Regions from separate parts of the Homo sapiens genome. Here all the other regions are linked to region 6. Evidence: promoter capture Hi-C in human tissues and cell types (Jung and others, 2019). All regions are on one chromosome and are shown on one strand. Each heading gives the region's core, a stretch centred on a gene start or on the middle of the fragment in contact. The rest is flanking DNA. Distances are from core to core; before and after follow the strand shown. Region 1 overlaps ELF1 (E74 like ETS transcription factor 1). Region 2 overlaps ELF1 (E74 like ETS transcription factor 1). Region 3 overlaps FOXO1 (forkhead box O1). Region 4 overlaps FOXO1 (forkhead box O1). Region 5 overlaps ELF1 (E74 like ETS transcription factor 1). Region 6 holds the start of SLC25A15 (solute carrier family 25 member 15).

What was found. Contacts are between HindIII fragments. The study calls those that stand out against the background at their distance.
Region 1: a fragment that was not itself captured here is called in contact with the fragment with the promoter of SLC25A15 in region 6 in 1 of the 25 tissues and cell types used here (lymphoblastoid cells).
Region 2: a contact is called between a fragment that was not itself captured here and the fragment with the promoter of SLC25A15 in region 6, in 1 of the 25 tissues and cell types used here (stomach).
Region 3: a fragment that was not itself captured here is called in contact with the fragment with the promoter of SLC25A15 in region 6 in 1 of the 25 tissues and cell types used here (spleen).
Region 4: a fragment that was not itself captured here is called in contact with the fragment with the promoter of SLC25A15 in region 6 in 1 of the 25 tissues and cell types used here (small bowel).
Region 5: a fragment that was not itself captured here is called in contact with the fragment with the promoter of SLC25A15 in region 6 in 3 of the 25 tissues and cell types used here (dorsolateral prefrontal cortex, lymphoblastoid cells and spleen).

What each region holds. Positions count from the first base shown.
Region 1 is chr13:41,001,503-41,006,060 of GRCh38, forward strand. The region is part of intron 1 of ELF1 (E74 like ETS transcription factor 1); the gene reads right to left. Among named protein-coding and RNA genes, the nearest start is that of ELF1, 16 kb to the right of the region's middle. The HindIII fragment of the contact is 4,925 bases long and covers 1-3,911 here.
Region 2 is chr13:40,938,802-40,943,350 of GRCh38, forward strand. It overlaps ELF1 (E74 like ETS transcription factor 1), which reads right to left. Exons shown (of 9, transcript NM_172373.4): 7 at 4,151-4,343; 8 at 2,120-2,569. Among named protein-coding and RNA genes, the nearest start is that of ELF1, 78 kb to the right of the region's middle. The HindIII fragment of the contact is 4,134 bases long and covers 672-4,549 here.
Region 3 is chr13:40,635,350-40,639,561 of GRCh38, forward strand. The region is part of intron 1 of FOXO1 (forkhead box O1); the gene reads right to left. Among named protein-coding and RNA genes, the nearest start is that of FOXO1, 29 kb to the right of the region's middle. The HindIII fragment of the contact is 3,078 bases long and covers 905-3,982 here.
Region 4 is chr13:40,600,312-40,604,917 of GRCh38, forward strand. The region is part of intron 1 of FOXO1 (forkhead box O1); the gene reads right to left. Among named protein-coding and RNA genes, the nearest start is that of FOXO1, 64 kb to the right of the region's middle. The HindIII fragment of the contact is 4,823 bases long and covers 674-4,606 here.
Region 5 is chr13:40,964,624-40,969,461 of GRCh38, forward strand. The region is part of intron 2 of ELF1 (E74 like ETS transcription factor 1); the gene reads right to left. Among named protein-coding and RNA genes, the nearest start is that of ELF1, 52 kb to the right of the region's middle. The HindIII fragment of the contact is 3,260 bases long and covers 1,261-4,520 here.
Region 6 is chr13:40,787,546-40,791,727 of GRCh38, forward strand. It overlaps SLC25A15 (solute carrier family 25 member 15), which reads left to right and starts at 2,066. Exons shown (of 7, transcript NM_014252.4): 1 at 2,066-2,118. RefSeq lists silencers at 1,636-2,215, 3,348-3,642. The HindIII fragment of the contact is 20,114 bases long and covers 1-4,182 here.

The DNA.
Region 1 (4,558 bases), core at 199-2,698, 210 kb after region 6:
ACCACACTACAAGTCTTCAAAATAGAATATAAAGCTATAATAACCAAAATAGCGTGGTTGGCATAAGAACAGACATACAACGTGAGAGACCCTGTTCTAAGTGCTGGGAATACAGCAGTGAACAAACCGACCAAAATTTGTGCCCTCATAGGGCTTAGAATCTAGTGATCTTAATCACAACATTCTGTTTCCCCTCAAAATATTCTGCTTTAAAAATGTAAAGCCAGATGCAGTGGCACGCTCCCATAGCAGGGGGCTGAAGCAGGAAGATCACTCCAGCCCAACAGTTCAAGGTTGCCGTGCACTGTGATCACAACTATAGACAGCCACTTACTCCAAGCAGGGCAAAACAGCAAGACCTTGCTTCAAAGAAAAAAAAAAATGGGGATTGTCAGGCAACATAGGCTGTTATCTTAAAACCCATGAAAGAAACTTCTGTCTCTCTCGTTCAATATCTAACTCCTAGTTACAATCCAACCCCTGACAACTGGACACAGAGAATGTGACGTCTCCTACAGTAAATGGGGGACTAAGAGTTGTGGGGAGAAGTTTTTTTACCTTTCAGAGACGATCTGTGAGTATATAAGGTGAGGGGAAGGGAAAATCTGGGGGGGAAATAGGTACAGATAAATCCAAAAGGAGGCTGTTCCAGGTAAAGCTGATTTACTTAGGGGTAACCTCAACGCCTTCATTTTGATTTAATTTTGACTTTGAGCCAACTGAAATGTGACACTGTGTACTGGGATTTTTAAAAACATCCCCTTTATAAATAGAAATACCTGGAGAAGAAGAAATAATTCTTCCTATATTGTCTTTTCCTATATTTTAATAGTAGATGGCCTGCAGAAATCATATCAGGGCGAGGTGCAGTGGCTCATGCCTGTAATCCCAGCACTTTGGGAGGCCAGAGTGGGTGGATCATTTGAGGCCAAGAATTCGAGACCAGCCTGAGCAACATGGCGAGAACCCATCTCAACACAAATTAAAAATTAGATGGGCATGGTGGCATGAGCTGGTGGTCCCAGCTACTTCGGAGGCTGAGGTTAGAGCCACTTGCACTCCACAGAGCAAGACCTTACCTTAAAAAAAAAAAAAAAAAGGCAAGTCCCATCTCAAAAAAATAAATAAATAAATAAATCAGTGTCGTCTATATTCTTTTGGACAAGCACTCTTTAGGGACCTATCTGCCAGACACTTGTGGGTAAGGGAGAAGGGTAGGAAAGCAACAAGTAGCTAAGAAGACTTTCCCTACAGGCGCTTACAATCTATCAACTAAGGCAAATGCAAATCATAGTAATATGTATGCTATAGCAGAAGTGGGCAAAGTTCATTCTCCCATGTAATTCAGTAATTATTTACTATGTCCCATCTCTTAAGATTATAAGCTACTTGAAAACAAAAGACATATAATAAATTTTTCTATATATTAATAAACACAGTTTAAAAGAATATTAAGTAAAGTGTATATTAAAAAGTCAAACTAGGTCAAGATCAAAGGACCTTTTATTTTCTTAATATTTACTTACTAAAATTCTTCATTAAACAGTAAAAGATTAGTGTTTTCATATGTTTGTTTTAGCATTCTATAGAATTTCACATGATGCATGTACTTGCTTCCCAGAACCAACTGGTGGTAAGCTAAGCTTCACTGACTATTGTCAAAGTGACGTACATATATGTATTTTTCTGATCCAAACTCAGAAATACATCAACACCCCCCAACAAAGAGCACAAAAAAGGGAGGTCTGACATGTAAAAGGACACTCAAAAACCCTATAAACTATTTTCCACATGTCTACCTAAGTTTTAATAAACAAAATAACTATTTGGTTCTTCTAAAACTCCTTAAAAATTAAATTCATATAGCTTCATAATTTTTCCTTCAATCTTAAAAATTAAATCCTTAAATTTGACTTTGATCATTTAGATTTATTGTTTAAAAAGACATAGTAACTTCTATCAATTTTTGGCTGGAAAAACTGTTAATATATAAACTTTATAAGACATTCCTAGAATGGCCAGATCTAAGCTAAAGTCCTATTTGTGAAAATTATTGCTCTGTTGACAAGACGACTGCAATTTATAACCCTCCAATCACTGAGGCACAAAAAACTTGGTGACAACAGAAAATAATACAGGGAGAAGCAAAAAGTAATAAAGAGAATTATTATTTCCATTTATTCAGTGGAGATATCAGGACCACAATGAATGGCTAGACATTTTTTCCAGATTGAAGCCAAAAGTAAGAGATTTTTGATGCTTAGCGAGCTAAAATAATTAAGCTCTTCAGCTACATTTTTTAATGGACCAATATGTTATCTCCACTTTTAACTAGGATGAAAACACTAATAATTTCACTAAGATATCTCATTTCCATAAACAGCAAAAACAAACTGGGGGTGGGTGGAGCTGAAGTACAAAATAACTTTTACAATAAAATTATTTCTTAGAAATAAACCATAAAGGCAACCTGTAGAAAAGATTCACATTATAGTTCTTTAACCAGTTTATGATTCTAGAAAAAAGAAAATAAATATCAGGCATGTATTTATTCCCCCAACAAGTATTTATGAAATCTACTATATGCCATTTACTGGGTATACAAAAATAAAGATAAATAAGATATGATCCTTGTCCCAAAGTGGTTCAACATCTAAAAAGAAACAATGTAAACAGATAATTACAAAACAATGTAAATAAACAAGTCAACCAAAAGATGACAGAATGAATAGAGAGGGGTAAATACCTGTGAGAACCTGAAAAAACTTCATAAGGAAGTAACATGTTACTTATTTCTAAAGAAATAGCCCACATCTGTTTTTTTCCAAGGAGAGAGAACATGAAAGGAAAGGGGGTGGGGGATATTCTGGGAAGAATAAGCAAAGGTGACCCTAAAAGTTAAAATCACTGAGAAACAGGTAGAATAGGAATTTAATGAAAACAAACCTTTTCCCTAACATTAGGGATACAGGATCTACCATCAGAACACCTGCATTCAAGTTGTAGTTGAACATCATTTACTAACTGTATTTTCTTAGATAAGTCAACCTCTATAACTTTCCATTTCATCTTTCATCTTGAAGTTGTACCAAGTAAGAATTTACTTGGTAAACTACAAAATGCTTTGAAAGTTTTACAGAATCCTGATATACTAATACATAAAAGTTAATAATTAGATACTAAAATTTCAAGATCAAAATATTAGCCTAATATTTCATAGTGAATTTATATCAAATATATGAATTCAAATGCCAATTTTTTTATGGCCTAAAAAATGTCACAAAAGTAAATACCTTTTAAATATGTAAAAGATATATGTTCCTATTAGGTGCTGTAGCAAACATCTAATTGCCACCACATGATGCATACAATCCATATAATACCAAACAAGCCTACAACGTCCCTCGAATCAACAAGTGACAAAAGTTTAATAAAACTAGCTTTATGCTTAACTGGTCTCCCCAGTGGCAAATTAAAGCAGCAATTGTACATCTGTGTCTCTGTTCCTCTCATCGTGGTTTAACTGACAGGAAGCACAGAGTAAGATATGGCACACAAATGTCAAGTATTTCCTGCCTTCTCTGTTACATCTTTATGTCTTGTTTTATAAATAGTCCAATAGTTTGTGTGAAAATATATGAAAGTACAGTAGCACAAACATATAAATGGTGAAGAGTGTTTATGCAAACAGAGCCAATAAAAAAGTATTTTGGTCTTGGGATCTAAGATTCAATATGCACGCAAAGACTCATTTATAGTCTTTTGAAGAAGTATTCTTAGGAGCAAACACCACACAAATTAAGATTTGAAAACCACAATGACTGAGTAAAAAACCAAGTGTCTAAACAACAGAACAGGCCCTCAAACTATTTTACCCAACTGTTTACATAAGTAACACTTGACCACCTTGATATGTGACCCTCCCCCCAACCTCTGCTATACCTATCCAAAAAAAAAAAAAAAAAAAACCTACCACAAAAAAAAAACAACCTTTAAGCAACTGACTATCAACAAAGCAGGACTGATAACTTGCATCTTTGATCTTTGGTCATTTTTACCATGGCTTCTTATCAGCACTCTCCTGTACTACAATTTATATCCCCCAACCAAACTATCTCTACTCCCTTCTCACTTCCTGTATATCCCAAACTTGGCTCATGTTATTTACTCATATATATTCAACTATATACAACCAAATAGAACTCTGTTCTCCATAGGTGAATCCTGCCTGCTTCAAGTCATGTTAACCAACCTTCCAGTTAATTATAACTAAGGTGTGCTCACCTTTCACCATGCCAAGCTGCCTCCCAAACTAATAATCAATCCTTAAGAATGAATTCAATTCATTACTCATATGATTCATATTCTGTATCATAAACTTGGGCAAAATGCAGCTATCTTATCCATTCATATTGGTCAATATTTACCTAGGCTATAATAAGCATAAGTTGCCACAATTACAATTCCACCAGAGTTTAGTGCTATTCCATTCTAGGTCAATGTCCAAAACCACTCTTCATATTTTACTTCACAGAAGTCCATCTTCAGCTTCCTGTGA
Region 2 (4,549 bases), core at 1,489-3,988, 150 kb after region 6:
AAGTCATCAAAAATCAAGAAAGATATAGTCAAAGAGAAAAAAAGGTATAAATAAATAGAGAAAACAAATAATGCAAAATGCTATCAATTTGTGAATTTAGGTGGATAGTAAATAAGTGTTCATAGTACTAGCTGAATTTTTCCATACTTTGAAATTTTCCATAGTAAAAGGTTGGGTAATTACAAAAATGCAAACAAAAAATATAAGAAATAACAAAACCAGAACTTGTCCTAATAAAAAACCATTCTAGGCCAGATGCAGTGGCTCACACTTATAATCCCAGCACTTCAGGAGGCCAAGGTGGTAGGATTGCTTGGTTGGTCTTGGTTCAAGACCAACAAAGTAAAACCCCATTTCTACAAAAAATTAAAAAATTAGCTGGACATGCCTGTAGTCCCAGCTATGAGGAAGGCTGAGGTGAGAGGACTGCTTGAGTCCTGGAAGTAGGATGCAGTGAGCTATGATGGTGTCATTACACTCCAGCCTAGGCAACAAAGCTAGCTAGACTTTGTCTCAAAAAAACAAAACAAAACAAAAACCTACTCTATAATATCTACAATTTAGTATCTTTCAAAGCTAGAGTTTTTTGTTTTGGTTTTATTCTCACAGTCTAAAAAGAATATTTTGAATACAGATGCTAAAAAAATTCCATGGAATCAGCTGTGGCCACTGTAGGTCTCCTATCAACACAAATACAAACAACAAACAGCCTAGAAACCAATGGGAGGAACCACACACTCCCAACCAGACACCCAGTCATCACCTGTAACCCACAGGGCCTAGGGAAATATAAAACATTAAGGGGAGAATACGGACAGTAAGAGTTAAATAAGCACCCACTGAGCATCCCAAATCCGAAAATCTGAAATCTAAAATATGAAACTTTTTGAGCACCAATAAGATGCTCAAAGGAAATGCTCACGGGAGCATTGTGGATCTCAGATTTTTGGATTTGGGATGCTGTGCCGGGTAAGTATAATGCAACGATTCAAAATCCGAAACAATTCTAAATCCAAAATATTTCTGGTCCCAGGCATTTTGGATAAGGGCTACTCAAGATATACTCCTTTAATAACAGTTAAAAGATGTAGCATCCAATTAAAAATGTAAAGGTCATCTTTGTACTCCTTGCAAATCAAGTGAAGATTTAAGAGAATATTTTCACAAGGTCAAACATTTTAAATTGTCTATACAAAGAAGACTGAATCTTCTAAGTCTGCCTTGATTCTAGGTAATGTTACCTTACTCCAAGATCAACTGAGCAAAACCTCCACATTTATATTCTGGAATATAAAAATGTAAGACTGAAGTTTGCTAATAAAAGTAATCAAATAATAATTTTTATTGGCTTTGAAAGGGCTGCTAGATTTTATTATGGTTCATGTTCTAGAAATTCATGACAGTATAAACAGAAAAATGCTACAAATATCCATATAATTTTCTGCCTTCCTCCCATACTCCCATTCTAAGTCAGCTGAGACTAGTCCCAAATTTCTGCAGATCAGTCTAAGGCAGACAGATCCTCTCAGTCAATTTGTTGTTTAGCATCTCATCCTGGGGCTCTGAGGCAAATCTGATTTAACTGAAAAAAAAAAAAAAAAAAAAAAAAAAAAAAAACAAACCTACTTTTTCAACTTCTGCCACTCTAAAAGAGGACCTTAGATTCTTGGCCTCCCTTCCTATTTGAACTTTAGAATTGTTCGAAGATAGGATCTTCCAAGGAATAACATTTATTGCTTGGAACTCTATGCACTCTCAATGTCCTAATATGTCAATTTATGTTGAATTTTTGAAGCTTCTGACTTGGCCTGAATAAAGATTTGAAACCCTGGATTTTCTCCCATCTAGATAATTTCTTATATGTATCAATCCAGTTATACAAAGGTGTAGTATTTGACAGAATAATGCCAGTAATGTCAAAATGTAAATAAAGGGACCAGTGGCATAATCAGAGGACTGACATAATAGTAACTGCTCCTGAAAAATCTGGTAACCAAGAATTCTAGCTTGAAACCTTTATACTTTTATTTTCATTTCTGAATCTTGACCCACTTAACAAATAATGTCTCTGGTCAGAAACATATTGAAGTGATAAGCATCAGTAGTTTGGTTTTCTCACCTAATACTCTGAACGGAAGAATTTAATGTTTCATCCTGCATGGTACTGGTTCTAGCTGCTTCTCCCTCTGGGACAGCCTGTACTGGCTGTACTACATGAACAGTCCGGAAGAGCTGGGTAGGATATGGAGACTGCGTGGGCTGCACTGTCCTCAAAACTTCTGATGGTTGTGCAACTTCCACAGGATCTTTGGGTTTTGCAGCTTTAGAATTCCCTGGTTTTAGAACTGTAGTGGCTCCTCCTTTTACCCCTGGACTTGAAGATACTCTCGACCGGCTGGTTTGATTCCTATTTGAAGTGGCTGATGAAGATAGCGATGGATCTGAAGACTCTATGCTGGAACTTGGATCCTCATCATTTATATATATAAGATCTTTTGGCATTTCTTTAAACTGATACACCAAGCGCTGACCTTCCACTTTTGCCAGAATACCCCTTTGGTAATAGTACCTATTCAAAGCAGACAATTTCATCAATCAATCAAACATCAATTAAAATATTCAACAAAATCAAATTTCCCTAATCATAAACAAAACTTTAAAGTTGGAATCAAACTAATGAGAAAAGAATTTCTAAATAAAGGGCTGTTATTTTATATGAGATAAACATACATTTATGCACAGATAGAGATAAGTTCTTATTACCAACTAAATCTAAAACTAATGCTGATTGGGGGACTGTTGATAAACTATGTGGAATCCTCTGGTCTTTCACTTTTCTTCCTCTTTCTGCTAACTTATTTACTTATTTATTTGGAGACAGAGTCTTGCTCTGTTGCCCAGGCTGGAGTGCAGTGGCATGATCACAGCTCACTGCAGCCTTGAACTCCTGGCCTTAAGCAATCTTTCCACGTCAGCCTCCTCAGTAGCTGGGACCACAGGCGCATGCTACCACACGTGGCTAATTTTTGCATTTTTTGGCAGAGACTGGGTTTTGCCATGTTGCCCAGGCTGATCTGGAACTCCCAGGCTGAAACGATCCTTCCTTCTCAGGCTCCCAAAATGCTGGGATTATAGAAGCGAGCCACCACACTCAGCCCCCCTCTGCCAACTTGCCAGGATAATCAAAACTACCAAAAGCCTCAAGAAATTGTTTCTCCTCCACGGCTTTCTAGAAATGTTCCTACTAGGCAAATTTTATCAGTTTAAATTTGATTCAATAAATTTAAATTGGCAAATGTATCAGTTTAAATTTGATTCAGTAAATTTGATTGACTTTTGTGTATAAAATTTAACCATATGCAATAGCAGTGATCCAACTTTTGTCATCTATTTTAACAAAATCAAGAACTTAAAAAGTGTATGTTAAAAAAACCCAAAAACTGTAATTAAAGAGTTTTAGTTTAAGACTGCTAAATTTTATATCTATATCTGTCTATCCCCTAAAAGTCATTCAGATCGTTCTTATTTCCAATACATCTTTCTCAAATACATGCGTATCTTGAAGGATAAATGACAGAATCACCGAAAAACGAACTAAAAGTGAGCTTAAGAATGTTACTCTTGTTCAAAATTCTCATGATTTCTAGTAGTACTCCTGAAGCACTGATTTATTCTACTATAATAACTAACATATCATACTTGCAATTCATGTTTGAGAATGCACCCTCTTTTTTTTTGAGACAGGGTCTCACTCCAGTTGCCCAAGCTGGAGTTCAGTAGTACAATCTGGATCACTGCAGCCTCAACCTCCCGGGCTCAGGTGATTCTCCCACCTCAGCCTGCCGAGTAGCTGGGACCACAGGTGCATACCACCACGCCTGGCTAATTTTTTGTATTTTTAGTAGAGACAGGGTTTTGCCATGTTGCCCAGGCTGGTCTTAAACTCCTGGACTCAAGCAATCCACCGGCCTCAGCCTCCCAAAGTGTTGGGATTACAGGCATGAGCCACCGCACCTGACTGAAAATGTACCCTCTTATTATGTATTTGCATTACCACTATTGGTGCTTTGCTGAACTTAAGCTTAGTATTTTTTTTTACAATTTAGAAAATGATATTCTTAACACAATAAAATACCAAAACTTCGCATACCTGAGTGCTCTTCCCATGGTCTCATAATTCATATCAGGTTTGTTTTTGTGCTTCCCCCACAACCTGGACACTGCTTTAGAATCCACCAATTTAAAAATGCCTTTCTCTCGCTGGGTCCACTTGATGTATTTAGGACAAGTAGCCTTGTCCTGGAGCAGTGCCAGTAAAAACTCCCAAAGATAAATTGTGTTTCCTGAAACAAAAACAATTTCTTTCTAAATGACCAAAATTTCATTTAAAAGAACCTCAAAAAAGACAACTAAAAGTCTTAGAAGTGCCATTTATATTTATACAAAAATATTACATAATTCAGTTAGTATTGGTGACATAATTTAGTTAGTATGGGTGATATAATGGTCATAATTTTTAGCATCTAATAAAGATCTTTTTATGAGTCCC
Region 3 (4,212 bases), core at 1,194-3,693, 150 kb before region 6:
AGCTTAACATTTAGGGGAAAAAAAAACTGTTCCTGATAAAGAACACTTTAACCCACGAAGGTTAAGGACTTTTAAGGACTTAATTTCCAGTTTAATACTGCATCCATGGGGACCAGGTAGAAGCACTGTTTACATCACTGAGTCAGTTTTCAAAATATCATCATCCTGGTCAGTTTTGCTTTTACTCAGCTTTATAATCTGCTTGTCAAACAAATAACCTGCTAAGACTACAATGAAAATATTTTCATTACCACGAGTCTGGAAGAGTATTTTTACAGAGGAAAATTGAGATGTCATGTCTGGGCAATCCCTTAAGCTAAATTTCTCACCTCTAATCACTGCCCTCTACAGTCAATAAGGCTGATGCCTTGTGCAGGAAAGGCCTCTGGATGGTCAGGCACACCACTGAGGAGAGTGAGTCCTCTCCCCTCCACTGAGGGCCTGCCCTGCCCACTTCTGGGGACGTGACAGAGGTCCCAGCCATCAGGATGAGCTGTACTCTACCTGCTGCCCCTCCCTGGGGACCAGATGCATGCATGTGACAGACCCACAGTGGCGCCCATCTGTAAAAACCAGTGGGAGCCAGCACTGTGGCTCACCCTGTAATCCCAGCCCTTTGGGAGGCTGAGGCAGGCGGATCACCTGAGGTCGGGAGTTCGAAACTAGCCTGGCCAACATGATGAAACCCTGTCTGTACTAAAAATACAAATATTAGCCAGGCGTGGCATGGTGCGGTACACCTGTAGTCCCAACTACTTGGGAGGCGGAGGCAGGAGAATCGCTTGAACCTGGGAGGCGGAGGTTGCAGTGAACTCAGATCTCACCACCCTACTCCAACCTGGGCCACAGAGCGAGATTCCATCAAAAAAAAAACAAAAAACAAAAAACAAAATGGTGGGGTCTGTTAAACATTTGCCACACAAGCTGTACAACCTCAAACAAGGTAGGGTCCTCTACCTCTCTGGGTCTCCATTTCCTGACCTGTAAAATGTTGATGATACTTACACCATGAAAGGCTACTGTAAGAATAAAATAATGGGCTGGGCCCAGTGGCTCATGCCTGTAATCTCAGCACTCTGGGAGGCCAATATGAGAGGACTGCTTGAGGCCAGGAGTTCAATACCAGCCTGGTCGATATAGCAAGATCCCATTTCTATTTTTCAAAAACTTTTTTTTTTTTTTTTTTTTGAGACAGAGTTTCACTCTTTGTTGCCCAGGCTGGAGTGCAGTGGCACAATCCCAGCTCACTGCAACCTCCACCTCCTGGGTTCAAATGATTCTCCCGTCTCAGCCTCCCAAGTAGCTGAGATTACAGGCATGCACCACCACACCCAGCTGACTTTTGTATTTTTAGTAGCTGGTCTCAAACTCCTGACCTCAGGTGATTCACCCGCCTTGGACTCCCAAAGTGCTGGGATTACAGGCGTGAGCCACCACACCTGGCCAAAAAATAATAATAATATTGTTTTAAAAGAAGGAAATAACAAGAAGCCTAGCACAATACCTGGTGGAGTACAAGTGCTAGGCTGAATAAACTACTGTAATTATAAACAGTGACTTTTCCTGAATACTATGCGCTAGGTACTGTTCTTTAGGCACCTTACCATGTATTATTAATTTATGTAGCTCTCATAACAACCCTTGATCATTATTGCACCAACTTACAAATGAGGAAACTGAGGCATGAAGATTAAGAACTTCATTCACAAGTGGAGGAAGGTTGGATTCAAACTTGACAGAAAGATACCCCAACTCAACACTGTGACAGCCTTTCTGGTGGCAGTGGCAATTGATCCCATGTAAAAAGCTTATGGCCGAGCGCGGTGGCTCACGTCTGTAATCTCAGCACTTTGGGAGTGCCAAGGCAGGCGGATCAGGAGGTCAGGAGATTGAGGCCATCCTGGCTAACACGGTGAAACCCCGTCTCTACTAAAAATACAAAAAATTAGCCGGGCATGGTGACACGTGCCTGTAGTCCCAGCTACTCAGGAGGCTGAGGCAGGAGAATAGCTTGAACCCGGGAGGCGGAGGTTGCAGTGAGCCAAGATCGTGCCACTGCACTCCAGCCTGGGCAACAGAGTGAGACTCCATCACAAAAAAAAAAAAAAAAAAAAAAAAAGGTTACAATAGGTCCTGCTGGGATTTCACCCTCAACCTTACGTCTTCCTAGCTATCAAATTTTAACCAACTCAAAAAATGTCAGCCTTCTATTTTCTGCTTTCTATATATAATCTGTACTTCACCAAAGTAATGATAATAATAGCTACCATTTATAAAACACTTCCTACACAGCAAACGCTACTCTAGAACACATTTTATGTTTTGTTCAATTCTCACAACAACCTATAAGAGTTACTATTTACATTCTTCACACGAGTAAAGAGCAGCACAGGAGGTCAACTGCCCAAGTGATAAAGTTGGTAAGCACTGAAGGCAGAACTCCACCCAGGCAGTGTGACCGGCAAACCGAAGCACTTACGCACTCTACTATACTGACTTCCTCAGCAACTACTCACTTTATGGGAATAACTGGTTATTTAGATAAGCAATACTATACAGAACTGCAGAAAAAGTTCATGTTTATCTGTATTACAGATGAGACTAAGATACTGGAGGCACCACACTTAGGGTCATTTGCAAGCTGTAGTACACATTTTACTGCCAACAGTCCACTACTGAGTTAACAGTGATATGTCTACCCACTTAAAAGTTTTTGTATTTTAAAAAATTCTTGAAATTTGGTTTTTCTGTCAGTAGACTTCAGTGGCAGAAAGGCTGGAATGCTGTGAAGGTTCTTTCTGTTTCTAAATTTAGGAACAGCAAGGATTGGTTTAGGGTCAGTTTAGTACAATGACAGCAGTGAACCAGATCATTTAATTTAAGGACCTAGTAATTTAAAAGGATGCACTAGAAAAACATGTCAAGCCAGATGAGAACCTCTGGCATCACCATCATCACCATAAGGAGATAACTTATAGAGGAACGTTGAAGTGATGTAAGGAAGACATTATATGAAAGAATACATTTTTGCTTCTCCAACAAAAAAAAAAGCTAAAATTTGTCATTTTTAAATGTCTGTTTCATTCCCATTGTGTGTGAGAAACTAAATATTAAGATGTTTCCTGGGACCAGAAAGGAAAAGTAAATAGAATTCTGCCCTTAAAAGCTTACAGTCCAATGAGATTTGGGGGCGAGAGACTAACTCACAAAAAGTTCCAAGAGAGAGCACACCTGTTAAGGGGGGAATCAAAGGAAACAGAGAAATCCCATTCAATTGGGGAGGAAATCAAGACAACAAGCTTCACAAAAAAGGCAGCAAAATAGGCAGTCTGGGAGGAGGAGGAGGGGGCCTAAGGTTTCAGAAGGTGGCAATGGTCCTAGGAAAATACATGCCCACTCACGACAGTGGTGAGAAGTGGTCATCAGAAGGATGGGCACTGTATTCATACTGTGATGAGGCACTGAAGGCAGTAGAAACTTCAGACCATCACTGGAAGTTCTGAAATGGAAGGAAGGGGGGCAGGGCAGCGCACCACCTCTGTAACTCCAGAACAGTCACTAAGGCCAGGCACGGTGGCTCACGCCTATAATCCAAGCACTTTGGGAGGCCAATGCGGGTGGATCACCTGACGTCAGGAGTTCGAGACCAGCCTGACCAACATGGTAAAACCCCGTCTCTACTAAAAATACAAAAATTAGCCAGGTGTGGTGGTGCGTGCCTGTAATCCCAGCTACTTGGGAGGCTGAGGCAGGAGAATCGCTTGAACCCGGGAGCAGGGGGTTGCAGTGAGCTGAGATCAGATAGTGCCACTGCACTCCAGCCTGGGCAACAAGAGGGAAACTCTGTCTTTAAAAAAAAAAACAACAACAGTTACTAAGACAATGAAAAGGGAAGCAGGGATATGGAGAAGGTTCAAGAGCCAGCAGAGTGACTCATCTCTTCAGAGGTCACAAGCCTCAGGGCTGATGGAATAGGAGGTCAGACCCTCTGACAGTCTAACCCTGCTTGGCCCTACCACAGGGTCGCCTGTCAGTAGTCCAGAGCCCTACACGTCATTCTTCTAGTTTTAGGTGCAGTAAATAAAAACACTAGTAACTAAGTTAGGAATTCTCTCAGTTTTTTATTCCAATAGTTCAAAATCACTCACTAAGCAACAAAGGCATTTTCATGCAGGAAAAAAATAAACTAATTTTGTCTAGAGCAGGGAGGGT
Region 4 (4,606 bases), core at 1,835-4,334, 190 kb before region 6:
ACCATCTGTGTGTGTGTCAAGGTGACAGGCTGAACCAGTCAGAAGGCATCACCACGGAAGTGCACAGGGGCTTTACCTTGGGGGGCACTCACATAGATTAGTAAAAGGAGTCTGCAACATGACAGGAAGAGCGTAGGAGTATGATAAAAATCAAAGACTGTAGCATTAGCAACAATTCCTGCCAATTAGGCATCCAAAATTTAAAGACGCCCTTTCTCAACTCCAACTACTGCAAATGCTGAGTCAGATTCTCCCAAAAAACACAATATTTCAGAAGCTTCATTAACTCCTTCCAGCATCTTCAAAGTATTACTTTGCAAATTACTGTCTGGGTATGCTAAACTTAGTAAATTACTGTTTGGGTAGACTAAATAGTAGTTCAGTACTCTGAAAGAGTTAATGGAGCTTCCAAACTGTCTAATTTAGTCCTAAGGTGATTTTGATAGTCAAGACTCTAACTCGATTTGCATATTACCAATTAGAATTTCAAGGCAATCCAATAAACTGGGCATTCAAAATTTATGTCCAAATTGGATCTAACAGACTTTTATTTAGACTTCCTAATCATCATAAATCTTAGATGATTACAACCAATCAACAGGGGTCTTTCCTCAAGCAATCTACTACAAATTAAAGCTAAAAAGTGATGGAAAAACATAAAACCTGAGATCAGGGTTTGCAGTTAATGTATGTTTGGAAACATGAGTCTGGGCTATGACTGGTCTGTCGAAAACCATCCCACAGCCACAGATTATTATACCTCAATGCCCCCCACCACCCGTTTTCTCTTCTTTGCAGCCATCTTCCCTTTCATCAGACTACAGTAACTTCTGCCACATGACAAATTTGTTCATTAAAGCCCAGTCTTTGAAGGATATTAAATGAGAATTCCTAAGATGAGGCACGTATCTCTTCTCTAAATAAAAACAATAAATAACATAAAAACAAGAATTTAACTTTGGACTTAAAGGTGATTTTTATGTGCTCAAGTCACTTTCCAGTTATGCTGTTAATAGTATTTTACATTATTCACTGACTGAACTTTGTTAATCAAAAACAAGCTGGCAAGCTTTATACATACATTAACCAGTGGCTTCAAAAAGATAACGCATAGAAAACAAAGTGGAAGCACTGCTAAAACAGAAGCAGTCATTTTGTTTAATTAAAACAATATGGCTGACTCTTCCCTATTTTTCAAATTTTCTCTAATATTTTTAAATTATACATACAGATTTAAACACGTATTTGTTCTCAATCCCCAAGCAAACCTGAATAAATCTTCTGAATTGTCCAATATACTAAATATTGATCCTGCAATATAATACTTTAAAAAATTTCTGTTAAAATTCTCAGTGATTAAATGGGTTTTTTGGTCACATTGGCACCTTTTTAGACACGTTTCTAAAAGATGTTGTTCTTGCTTTGTTATTCTTTTGAAAAATATAGAGCAATACCTAAGCATCTTTGTACTAGTACTGTTTTACCACTAATGTCTTGATTTGATAAATACTTTGAAATGGAAATATCACCAAAGATCCCAGTTCAGACCTATTAATTTTAAAAAATAGAATTGTATCTACATTTTCAAATGTTTGCATTTTAAAAATACAGTAACTAGAACTCTCTAGAGAGGTACTATGTTATCAATAATAATGAAATTACATATGCATAGCTTTCAGAGCCAAGAGGCACTAGCTGAAACTACATGACATAGAAAGATTCATGTAAACCTTAGTCCCATCACTAAAGCAAAAGACAAGCATTCTGGTTTTCTCAATTTATTAATATTTTGAGTTCCATCACAGTAGTTTTTTACTAACTACAAATTAAGTAGCCAATCTATGCCTTAATTGCAGGAATAATATGCTTAATATGCTTTCCCCCTCCCTCACTTTCTGAAGATGAATCTGAGCAAAAGAAATGTAGCAAGAACAACCATGTGACAGTGAATCTAAACATGTTCTATGGCATTTAAATTAGTCATTTGCAAGAAACTAAGCCGGCTATCCACAGAGAAATTTTCAAAAGGAATAGGTATATGAGATAACTAAAAGCTTTCAAAGAAAATGTTTAAAGTCTTTTCTCTTTTTCCCCAGTCTCACTTTTGAGGACAAGAAAATTTTAAAATTCAAAGCATAAAACTCATTAATACCGATCCCTTAGGGGATTAAATGTGGAGGGTGGGGGAAGATACATAATCAATGTACCCGAAAAAAAGAAAGAAATTCACATAAACAATGTAAAAGATTATTTCAAACATGAAGGGGGAGAGATTTATCTTCACCTGCTAATACAGCTTAATGCTCGTGTTTTTCTACCCAAGGTCATTTACATTTTTTAAAATGGTTGTTTTAATTTCATTCCAACACAATGCATTCTATCTAGATGGCATGATTTACAAAACCCTGATACAGCACCTTTCAACACTACCTGCCAATCATTTAAGGCTTTTCCAGGATTTGTGTCAGAGATTTAGGTATAGGTTAGCAGCAAATCCTTCTTAGTTGACACATGTGAAGATGGTCCCAAATGCAAAACAAAACAAAACATACTACCAAGCTCACCTACCTGGTAAGTCTTCTGCAAGTTACACTACCATAAAATTAGTAGAGTTCAAGGTCCCAATCCAGAGGCAACTTCATGTAGGATGAGTGATGGATGGATGGGAATGAACACCACACATGCTCTGCTCATACACTCACTCCCTACGTCACTCCACAACTAGGCCACTAATGCAGATCTCAATCTGACAGAGCCATTTCCTCAGTTACAATTCAGGGGGCTGCCAATGGTCCTTCAGGTCTCTCCCAGCTTACGATGCCTGTACCGTGTATTTCCATTTTAGGCTTCTCTCAGGACATGCTTAAGATAAATCTTATTTTATTACAGGGTAATGAGGAGAAACAATATGTATCCTAAAGAAAGTAGGTTAGCTATGGCTTTTGGCAGTCAATGCTCTTAATGCTGCTATTAGGTGGAAAGGTGTTATCCAATCTCAATCCAATCCAAACCAGATGGAGACCCTAGTTGGCAGATGAATCCAAAAAAAAAAAAAAAAAAAAAGGTTGAGTTAAAGCACAGGATTTTAAATATATACATATATTATAAATAAAAAGTATGTATACCTTATATATGTGTGTGTGTCTGTACATGTGTGTGTGTACATATATATGTATTCCTTAAACATTTGCCTTAAAAATATACAGGAAACTGTGCTTGAGGTACAGCAAACCTTTGAACCAAGATACTCTGGCTAGGCTTCCATTCTTTCTTATAAACCCTAAACCCACAGTATATTGTCACCACAGATTTACAATTTGGGTTTCTTTCAAGTGTAAGAGGAATCCAACTGAACCCCTTTCATATCAATCCAACTACAGAGTTCTTCATGGTTTCCCCTAATCTTACAGGGTCTGACTGCAACTAATTTATCAGCAGCTTAAGTCTTTCAAGGGGTTCAACTTAGTTTTTCCTAAAGATAATTATTTTCACATTCATATTTAATAACTAACTTTTTCTTAGGAAAACAATTACTACTGCACAAACACATCTGAAAAAGCACAACTGAGTTTCAAGAAAACTATAACTCAACTACTGTACTAGAGCTTAGCTTTAGCAGTCAGAGTGCCATATACAATCATGAAGTGTGTTTTGTCAAGGGAATTAAGAACTGGGGTTGATGTGGTGTGCTGGGGAAGCAAAGATCAGGTGAGAAAGCTGGAGCAGATGATGGTGTCGCCACAGAAATTTATCCCGAACAATTATGTGCCAAAATGGGGCAAAGACTGGGAAAACTACAGAGTGGCTTTTTAACTGTGTGATTTATATTGAATGTGACAGAATTAGCCTAAATTTTGCAATTTCCACTAAGGAAAAAAAAAAAAGAAGACAAGACATGCCACCTAGAAGCACTATTAACACTTTAAATGTGTGTCACTTGTTCTTACAAGTCAATCTTTTGAAAAATCTAGATAGTGATACTGTATATGTATGTGCATGTACCTACATGTTATTTAAAGCATACATATGACTGAGTGCACTCAACTATCTCATAATTAGTCTGGTGTCAGATCTTTTTTTTTTTTTATCATTCTTGCCTCTGGAATAAACCATATGATCTGTATGTGGTTCTCTTGGTAGGTTTATCTTCCCATGTGCTATTTACACTTATATTAGAATGGATTCATATGCATTCAGCCCAGAATCATATTGGCATCAGGCAAGGACACCTAGCTACCAGCATCTATGACCAGGCAGACACATACACATAATCTATACTACAGAGAACTAACTGAAAGGTGATGCTACTTCATCACAAGCCTTTCTCGGCTGGAAGCTTTCTTCTTTAAACATGCCATGACAACAGGAGTCTAAACCAGACAACTCTATATTTTTTTACCTATTTGTAAATATTACTGTCATCCCTAAAAAGTCTTATGTATAAGAATCACACACTAGATTAAGATGTTATTTTTTTCTAGACAGAGGCCAAAAGTGTATTCATTTAACATTATAGACAGTAAAACAGCTATATGTTAACATCCTTTCTAAAATTCAATTGGTTCCTATTAGACACAAACCCTTTCCTCTAGTTCCCAGCCTCAGG
Region 5 (4,838 bases), core at 1,641-4,140, 180 kb after region 6:
TCCCGGGCTCAAGCGATCCTCTCACCTCAGCCTCTCAAGTAGCTGCGACTACAGGCATGCACCATTACGCCTGGCTAATTTTTGGATCTTTTGCACAGATGGGGTTTCTCCATGTTCCCCAGGCTGGTCTCGAACTCCTGAGCTCAAGCGATCCACCCAACTCGGCCTCCCATAGTGTTGGGATTACAGGTGTGAGCCACCGCACCCAGCCCAAATTTCCCCTTTTTATAAGGACACCAGGTAGTGGAGTAAGGGCTCCCCTCTCCTGTAGTGTAACTTCTTTACTAATTACATCTGCCATGACCCTATTTCCAACAACCAAATAAGGTTACACTCTGAGGTACTAGAGGTTAGAACTTCAATATATGAATTGGTGTGTGGGTGTGCACGCAGGCACAATTCAACCAATAATAGGACTTAATTTAATTTGGTTTTAAGTCTGTCATTTAACAATTTGTTCCCTCTGCCCGAAATAACTTGTATAAACTAGTCTTTTCATTGTTTCTAAATTGAGATTGGATATTACTCTTCAGGTTTCTTTGCTGAAGATCATCAAATCTTACCCACCTCAATTTTTTCCACACCATTTCAAACAGACCCTTTCCCAAGATTTATTTAAAAGATGGGCTTCAGGAAGATAGCAGATATTCATAAAATAGCCACACTCCTAATAGTAAGCAATAAGATGTTACCTACTTTTAAGAAATGAAGGTGTTGGCCGGGTGCAGTGGCTCACACCTGTAACCCCAGCACTTTGGGAGGCCGAAGCGGGTGGATCACCTGAGGTCAGGAGTTCGAGACCAGCCTGGCCAACATGAAGAAACCTCATCTCTACTAAAAAATAAAAAAATTAGCTGGGTGTGGTGGTGTGCACCTGTAATCCTAGCTACTCAGGAGCCTGAGGCATGAGAAGCTTGAATCTGGTAGGCAGAGGCTGCAATGAGCCCAGATTATGCCACTGCACTCCAACCTGGGTGATAGAGCAAGATTTCATCTCAAAGAAAAAAAAAAAGAAATGAAGGTTTCAATGCTTCTTTGATGCCTTAACAAAAACATTACATTCCATTTGACTGGCTGCTACTTTAAAAAATGACCTTCCAAACCTTCCAAACACTTCTAAAAACTCTCATCATTTAAATAATTAGATTAAGCATCTTTTCTTTTATTTGCATCATGAAATCTAATTAAATTCTACTGGTGCTTATCAATTTTCGCTGTACAGTGGGAAACATTTAAGAATATCAATATTTGACCCCACATGGGATAAAATAAATCAGACTATCTGGGGGTGTGACCAGAGCCTAATATTAAAGCTCCCCAGGTGGGTCCAATTTGCATCCAGGCTTCAGGACCACCGCTCTGAAGAATGACAACATTCAAAACTGCATTCCCTAAGTTGAGTCAGCTCTAATTATTCTTGCTAAGATCTGGGATATTAGTAATTCAAACAATTACATTTTTATATTATTAGATCTTTTGCTATTTGTCACTTGCAGATTATTTTCCCCTTTGGTTTTTGAACAGAACCAAAATAAACCACAAACCATGGGAACAAGAGAGGGAAGATCTCCTGGAACTAAAATCTATCAAAGATCAGGGTTTCCAAAGCTTCAATATCTAGAAGCAAATTACTGCAGTGATAAAGTAATTTTCAATTGTTTCATAACTTTCTTGAAGGTCTTAACAGCTCCAAAGAGATTTCCCCTTTCTATTAATTATAGATAAATTTAGGATATATGTTGAAAGCAAAATTTCAGCAAACATTTTTGGAGCAATAATAAAATTCAAACCAAGTTTTAGCAGAAGAGAGTCACAGTTCCCCAAATTTCAACATTGTCCACGATATAGTTTCCACTTGTGGTTGATCACGTATGTGGCAATACCATCAAGTTAAAAAGAGAAGGAAAGCGACCAATGTAAGCAGGACATTATGTGACTCCCCTAACTAGGCTTGCTTGTTCCACATACCACAATCCAAGGTCCTATGTGGATATTTCAGAAACCATGAATCATTATTCCAACTTCATTAATAATTTTGTTCATCAAGTTTTTGGGTATCAAAAAGCACAAGAACTTTCATATAACTTGTTTACCAAGTTTCTCTAATAGCAGAACTCAATCTGGTATATGGTGATTGTGAAACATCCCATCAAAATCCTCTCTAAAATAGCTTAAAATGAAATACCTACAAAATATTTTCCCAAAACAAAAAGCAAGTTAAATTTAGTCTCTAGCATTTTTCCAAAGCAGACACTACTTTTTAAAGACAGGTGCAAAATGAGCACACCTTCGAGTAGTTCACGCAACATCTTTGCATCAAGGCAAGAAAACACCAAGAGGGGTCTGGTGCCTTACTCCTCCCACAGTCTTCAACAGCTCCCCTGACTCCAAAGCCTGTCCAATAAGCACACAAATTAAACACTGCACTTGCTATGAAAACACATCTTTGAGACAAATCCCTGTGCCCAGCCTTCAAATCAGACTGAGGCCCCAAAGCCTTATCCTATGAAGACACTGCTTTGAGGACTTCTGAATTATTCTTGAAATCACTTCCTTTTACATTTGATTTAAAAAACAAAAACCCAGCACCTTACTCTATTACAACACGATCTGACAGTACCTTACCATGCAGCAAATGCACTACATACACACATGGTGAACAGGGTGTAACAGTAAAAACTCAGGTTCTTATTTAAGGTAGGACTCCACCATGGCCTGGGTATTTGAACTCATGCAAGTTATCCAGCCTCTCTAAGCTTTAGTTCCTACATCTATTCAAAATAAGAATAATAGTATCTTCTGGAATTGTTGTAAGAATAATGTGTAAATAAATCATTTGTGATAATGCATGGCATATAGTAAGCAATAAATAAAATGTTTTGATGATTAAAGCCCTTCAATATTTGATACGGATAGAAATAAACACTCTCAAAAACTGACTTACTACAATCTCACATGGACAGGCATGGTTTTGTTTTTATTTTTTTGAGACAGGGTCTTGCTCTGTCGCCTCGCTGGAGTGCAGTGGCGTGATCACAGCTCACTGCATCTGTGAACTCCTGGGCTCATGCAATCCTCCTGCCTCAGTCTCCCAAGTAGCTGGGACTATAGGCGTATGCCACCATGTCTGGCTAATTTTTTTTTTTTTGTAGAGATGAGGTCTCTCTATGTTGCCCAGGCTGGTCGCAAACTCCTAGGCTCAAGCAATCCTCTCCTGCCTCGGCCTCCCAAAGTGCTGGGATTATAGGTGTGAGCCACCATGCCTTGTCCTTTTTGTTTATTAATTATTTTTTGCTTTATTTATTATTTCTTTTGCTTTCTTTAACCTTTAAGCTTTGTTGGGATTTGATTTTGTTTTATTTTTAATGAGAATAGTCTTTTCAAAACATAGGTGAACAAACCTTAACCATCCACACTTAGCAACAACATTTAGCTTCAACTAAAAGCAAATGTTGATACATATGTGTGTTCACTTTGTGAAAATTCATAAACTGCATGCTTATTACCGACATACATTTTTATATTAATGCTACACTTCAATAAGAAGTTTAAAAAGCAGAGGTCCATCTGATGGGAGAAACAAAACTTCAAAACATCTTCAAAATACTATGATGGTATTCCTTCATTACCTCATATAAACCATGATAAAATTAAAGGAAATCGCTACACACAGTACATCTACATGGATAAACACACACAAAAAATTAGGGTGACTGGTGAACAAAGTGAAAAGTTGAAATCCTTTCAACAAATCCCCATGGCACATTTTTAATAATTATCTTTGGGAATAAATAATACAGAACATATTTATATTCCAAGAGTATGAAACATCATTGCTTCCTTTCCATATAGTGCCCCTCCTCAATGGTTTCTACTATTTCTAAATTCCAAAGTGTATTTTAAATGATTTCAGGAATTGATGTATTACACAAAGCAAGCTAGGATTGTACAATAGATTTCCAAAGCCCAGTACAAAGTTTTCTGTGAAGAATTCTTCATAGCCAAATTCTCCACATACTTTAAAAAAATATGCCACTAAAACAGCTCCAAATATTTCTGTTGATTAACTCAAGCTCCCTGTAAACACTTTCTATATTCTTTTTTTTTTTTTTTTTAGACAGGGTCTTGCTCCGTTGCCCAGGCTGTAGTACAGTGGCACAATCACAGCTCATTGCAGCCTTGACCTCTGGGGCTCAAGCAATCTTTCCACCTCAGCGACATGAATAGCTGGGAGAACAGGCATGTGCCACCACACCCAGCTAATTTTTGTGTTTTTTGTAGAGATGGGGTTTTGTCATGTTGCCCAGGCTGGTCTCAAACTCCTGGGCTTAAGCAGTCCATCTGCCTCAGCCTCCCAAAGTGCTGGGATTACAGACATGAGCCATTGCGCCCAGGGACCTATTCCTTATTATAAAATAAAAAGCAGTTTTAGCAACCAGGCAGAAAAGTTTATGTAGTTGTAGTACCCACTGCTCAACACATTGGTCTAAATTATAAGAACATCATAGTTTTACTGACTACAGGTGTAGTACATGAGTCTAGTTCTTAAAAATGTTATACATAAATGTATTTGGGAAAAAGTAAAAAATCGCACTAATCCTAGATATAATCAGTATAAAAGACAATTTACTTAATAGTCTTCCATATTCTCTTTTTCCTTTATGGTTCTTTTTCTCTCTTATACCCTAGCATAATGGTTAAGAGTTTGGGCTCTCTCAGGTCAGTCAATTTCAATACAAGTGGCACTTTACAGTTGTGTGTTTCTGGGTAACATGCATTCCTTCAACCTCTTTGAGATTCCTCATTATACATGTTTTCCTTACTTGTAAAATGGGGAT
Region 6 (4,182 bases), core at 816-3,315:
AATTCTTGGGGAGATTGATTTGAGTAATAATAAAACTCTGGTCTCCTGCACAGCTGGTTCTGCGTGAATTAAACTGTTTCTCTATTGCAATTCCCCCATCTTGATAAATTGGCTCAGTTGAGGCAGCGGGCGAGAAGAACCCATTGGGCAGTTACATCACTGTGTTGCCCAGGTTCAACTCGAACTCCTGGGCTCAAGCAATCCTCCTGCCTCAGCCTCCCAACATGTTGGGATTACAGGCATGAGCCACCACACCCAGCCAAGTCTGTCCTTAATCAGGGTTCCTTTGGGTCTCATTTTCTGAAGCTGCAAAAGCTATTGGACCAGGTGACATTGCCAACCCCTTTAAGCTGCTGTAACTGTAGTTTCAGCTGCTGGATCTGCTTTCAGTTAGTTATGTTCCCCATCACTTTGGACAAGTCATCCCAACTCCCTGGCTTGTTTTTGTAACTCGATTACAGTCCAGAAGCCCAAGTTCTAAAGTGCTGATTCTGATGAGTGTCCATGTACCAGGCACTCTGATCCCATCATAGCATCTACTACAGCCTGGGAGGTCTACTCAAGTGTGCATTCATGTTAAGCACTAACACCAATTAAATCACTTAAATAACGTAGGTAATTATCCAATAGCACATCCAGACGTGGTGGCTCACACGTGTAATCCCAGCACTTTGAGAGGCCGAGGCAGGCAGATCACCTGAGGTCAGGAGTTCGAGACCAGCCCGGCCAAGGTGGTGAAACCCTGTCTCTACTAAAAAATACAAAATTAGCTGGGTGTGGTGGCGCATGCCTGTAATCCCAGCTACTTGGGAAGCTAAGGCAGGAGAATCGCTTGAACCCAGGAGGGGGAGGTTGCAGTGAGCTGAGATTGCACCATTGCACTCCAGCTCGGGTGACAGAGTGAGACTCTGTCTCAAAAAAAAAAAGAAAAAAAAAGAAAAAAATAATAATCCAACAGCACATCTAAACAAGGCTTAAAGTTGTAAAATAAAATTACACTGTGTGGAGGGTGTGTGTGTGTGTGTGTGTGTGTGTGTGTGGGTGAGAGAGAGAGAGAGAGAGAGATGAGGTCTCTGTCATCCAGGCTGGAGTGCAACAGTGCCATCATAGCTCACTGCGGCCTCCAATTCCTGGCCTCAAGCGATCCTCCCGCCTTGGCCTCCCAAATAGCTAAGAATAGAGGCATGTGTCACCACACCTTTTTTTTTTTGTCGTTGTTTGTTTGTTTTTATGAAACGGAGTCTCGCTGTGTAGCCCAGGCTGGAGTGTAGTGATGCAATCTTGGCTCACTGCAACCTTCACCTCCCAGATTCAAGCGATTCTCCTGCCTCAGCCTCCCTAGTAGCTGGGGTTACAGACACGCACCACCACGCTGGATAAATTTTTGTAATTTTAGTACACGGGGTTTCACCATGTTGGCCAGGCTGGTCTTGGACTCCTGACCTCAGGTGATCCGCCTACCTCGGCCTCCCACAGTGCTGGGATTACAGGCGTGAGCCACCATGCCCGGCTAATTCCTGTATTTTCATACTTAGTTGTATTTCCTATTAGGGCCTTGGATCCCGAGTATAATTTTGTACTCAAATATAATTTATAAATAAGGCCTTAGCCTCCCAACAAGGTCAAAGTAGCTAAAAAGTAAGTCCTCCCAACCACTGACATTACCAGCCCCCAGCCCCCAGTCCCAGCCCAGCGGGCTAACAAGGGTCCGGCCTCAGAGAGGGTCTCGGGGATCCCAGAGGTGGGAAAGTCTCCGGAGGCGCAGGCCCCGCTCTCCACCTTCACCAGGGTCGGCGGCAGCACCACGCCGGGTCGCGGGCTGGCTGTGCGCGCCGCGGCCCCACGCCCACTTCCGCTTCCCGTGCTGGGGGCGGTGGCAGGGCCGGTGGGCGGTGGCGGCTCCCGGTCTCGGCTCGGGCACGGCCCTGGGCAGGCCGCCCGCCAGCCGCAGGGGCGCTCCTGAGCTTCGCGGGGCCGCAGTCCGGGATGCCTGCGCGAAGGGAGGGGCGAAGGGCCGGCCGTTGCCGACGTGGGTGTTAAGTGGCCGCCCCAGCCGGCGACCCGGAGCCGAGAGCGGGCGGCGGAGCCTGAGCTGGACGCGGCCACGCCGGCGCGGCGGTGAGCGCAGCCCGGTCTGGCGCCTGCAGCTGCGGGGAGCGCGCCAGGCAGAGGGAGCGGGGAGCGGGGCGCGGGGCGGGCCTCGGTGTGCGGGCGGCGTGACCTTCCCGAGCGGCGGGGGAAGCGGCCAGCGTCGCAGCGCACGTGCCGCGGGACTCGGAGAATCTCGGGGTTGTCGGCCTCCTTCCTGCAGTGCCCACCTGGTGGGAACTTTTGTCCTTGTTTGCCCCCAAGTCCTGTCATTTGGCTGCGGGGCTCCGCGCCTCAGGGGCGCCAGTGCTGGGCAGCATGGAGCCGCTTGTGAATGGAGACTTGCTGGCTGCCCAGGAGTGGGCGGCTGGGCAGGGGCGGTGAACGTTTAGGGTCCGGCCAAGAAAGTTGGAAGTCGTCTCCCTGACCTGTTCCTTGCGAGGCCCGGGAGGAGACGCGCCTGGCCGGTCCTTGGCGGCGAAACTGATTTGCATCTCCACGCTTTACCTAAAGCCCGGGCTCTGGGGACTGGATGGCGAGCTGGCCTGCGGCTCCTTTAGCCAGAAGCTGGGATCTTCCCGCAGCAGTTCGTGTTCCCTGGTGGAAAATGCAGCCTCATCTACTGACTCTCCCTTCCAAAAAAAAGTTATTTTCCCCAAGGGTCGAGAAAAGTGGGTGGTCGGCACTGTTGTTCCTCAGTTGCACCCTGGTGTAATTTGAGAGAGGGGTCAAAGGCGCTGAAAAGATTCTTTTTTCTATTCCAAGTGCTACAGCAAGCTCATAAATCAATTTTAATTCATGCTGAACAGTCTTGCCTCCTCCAAGCCCTGTGTCTTCTCCAAGCCAGAGCTACACATAATGTGAATTAGCTGCCCACTCCTTCTGAGTGAATCTGTTAGTACCCATCATCGTTTTCTATCCTAATAATTCTAATGGCTATTTGTAGAATTTATTTGTTTGTTTATTTTTTTGAGACGGAGTTTCGCTCTTGTTGCCCAGGCTGGAGTGCAATGGGGCGATCTCGGCTCACCGCAACCTCCGCCTCCTGGGTTCAAGCTATTCTCCTCCCTCAGCCTCCCGAGTAGCTGGGATTACAAGCATGGCCCACCACGCCAGGCTAATTTTGTATTTTTAATAGAGACGGGGGTTTCTCATGTTGGTCAGGCTGGTCTCGAACTCCCGACCTCAGGTGATCCGCCCGCCTTGGCCTCCCAAAGTGCTGGGATTACAGGCGTGAGCCACTGTGCCTGGCCTATTTGTAGAATTTAATGTGTTTAAGTTTGGCTCACCTAACAGGGTTTAATTCTTAGGGACAGATAGAATGTAATGTGATGTGACTTTCCTTCAAAATTAAGAAGGAAGTGTCTGTGCCAAAAGAAATAAGCGCATTGAGGTTTATCTAGGAGGCCACATTGTACTTGCCTCTGTCTGTCTGCTCAGTTGCCCCCGTTTTTTTCTTTCCCAAAAATATAGGGTTGGGTGTTTTGTGTTGCCTTTGGCCAGGTTGAAATACTCAGATTAACGGTTGGTTTGTAGGCACAGGCCTGAAAAGACAGGACTTTGAACTGAATCCTCTGTCACTGACAGTTGTGTGGCCTTGGAGAAGACCTTGTCTTGCTCCAGGCTTTAGTTTGCCTTCTGGGAAAGGATTAGGACCCTGATAAACTTTTTATTTATTTATTTATTTATTTATTTATTTATTTTATTTTTTATTTTCTATTATTATTATTATTTTTTTTTTTGAGACAGAGTCTCACTTTGTTGCCCAGGCTGGAGTCCAGTGGCACAATCTCGGCTCACTGCAACCTCCACCTCCCGGGTTCAAGTGAATCTTCTGCCTCAGCCTCCTGAGTAGCTGGGACTACAGGTGTGCATCACCACGCTGGGGTCATTTTTGTATTTTAAGTAGAGACAGGGTTACACCATATTCGTCAAGCTGGTCTCAAACTCCTGACCTCGTGATCCTCCCACCTCAGCCGGCCCAAAGTGCTGGGATTACAGGCGTGAGCCACCGCGCCTGGCCAGGACCCTGATAAACTTTTTTAGGAAGATACCAGATGGCCACCACCTTTTCAGCCTAGTGAATGGTCCTGT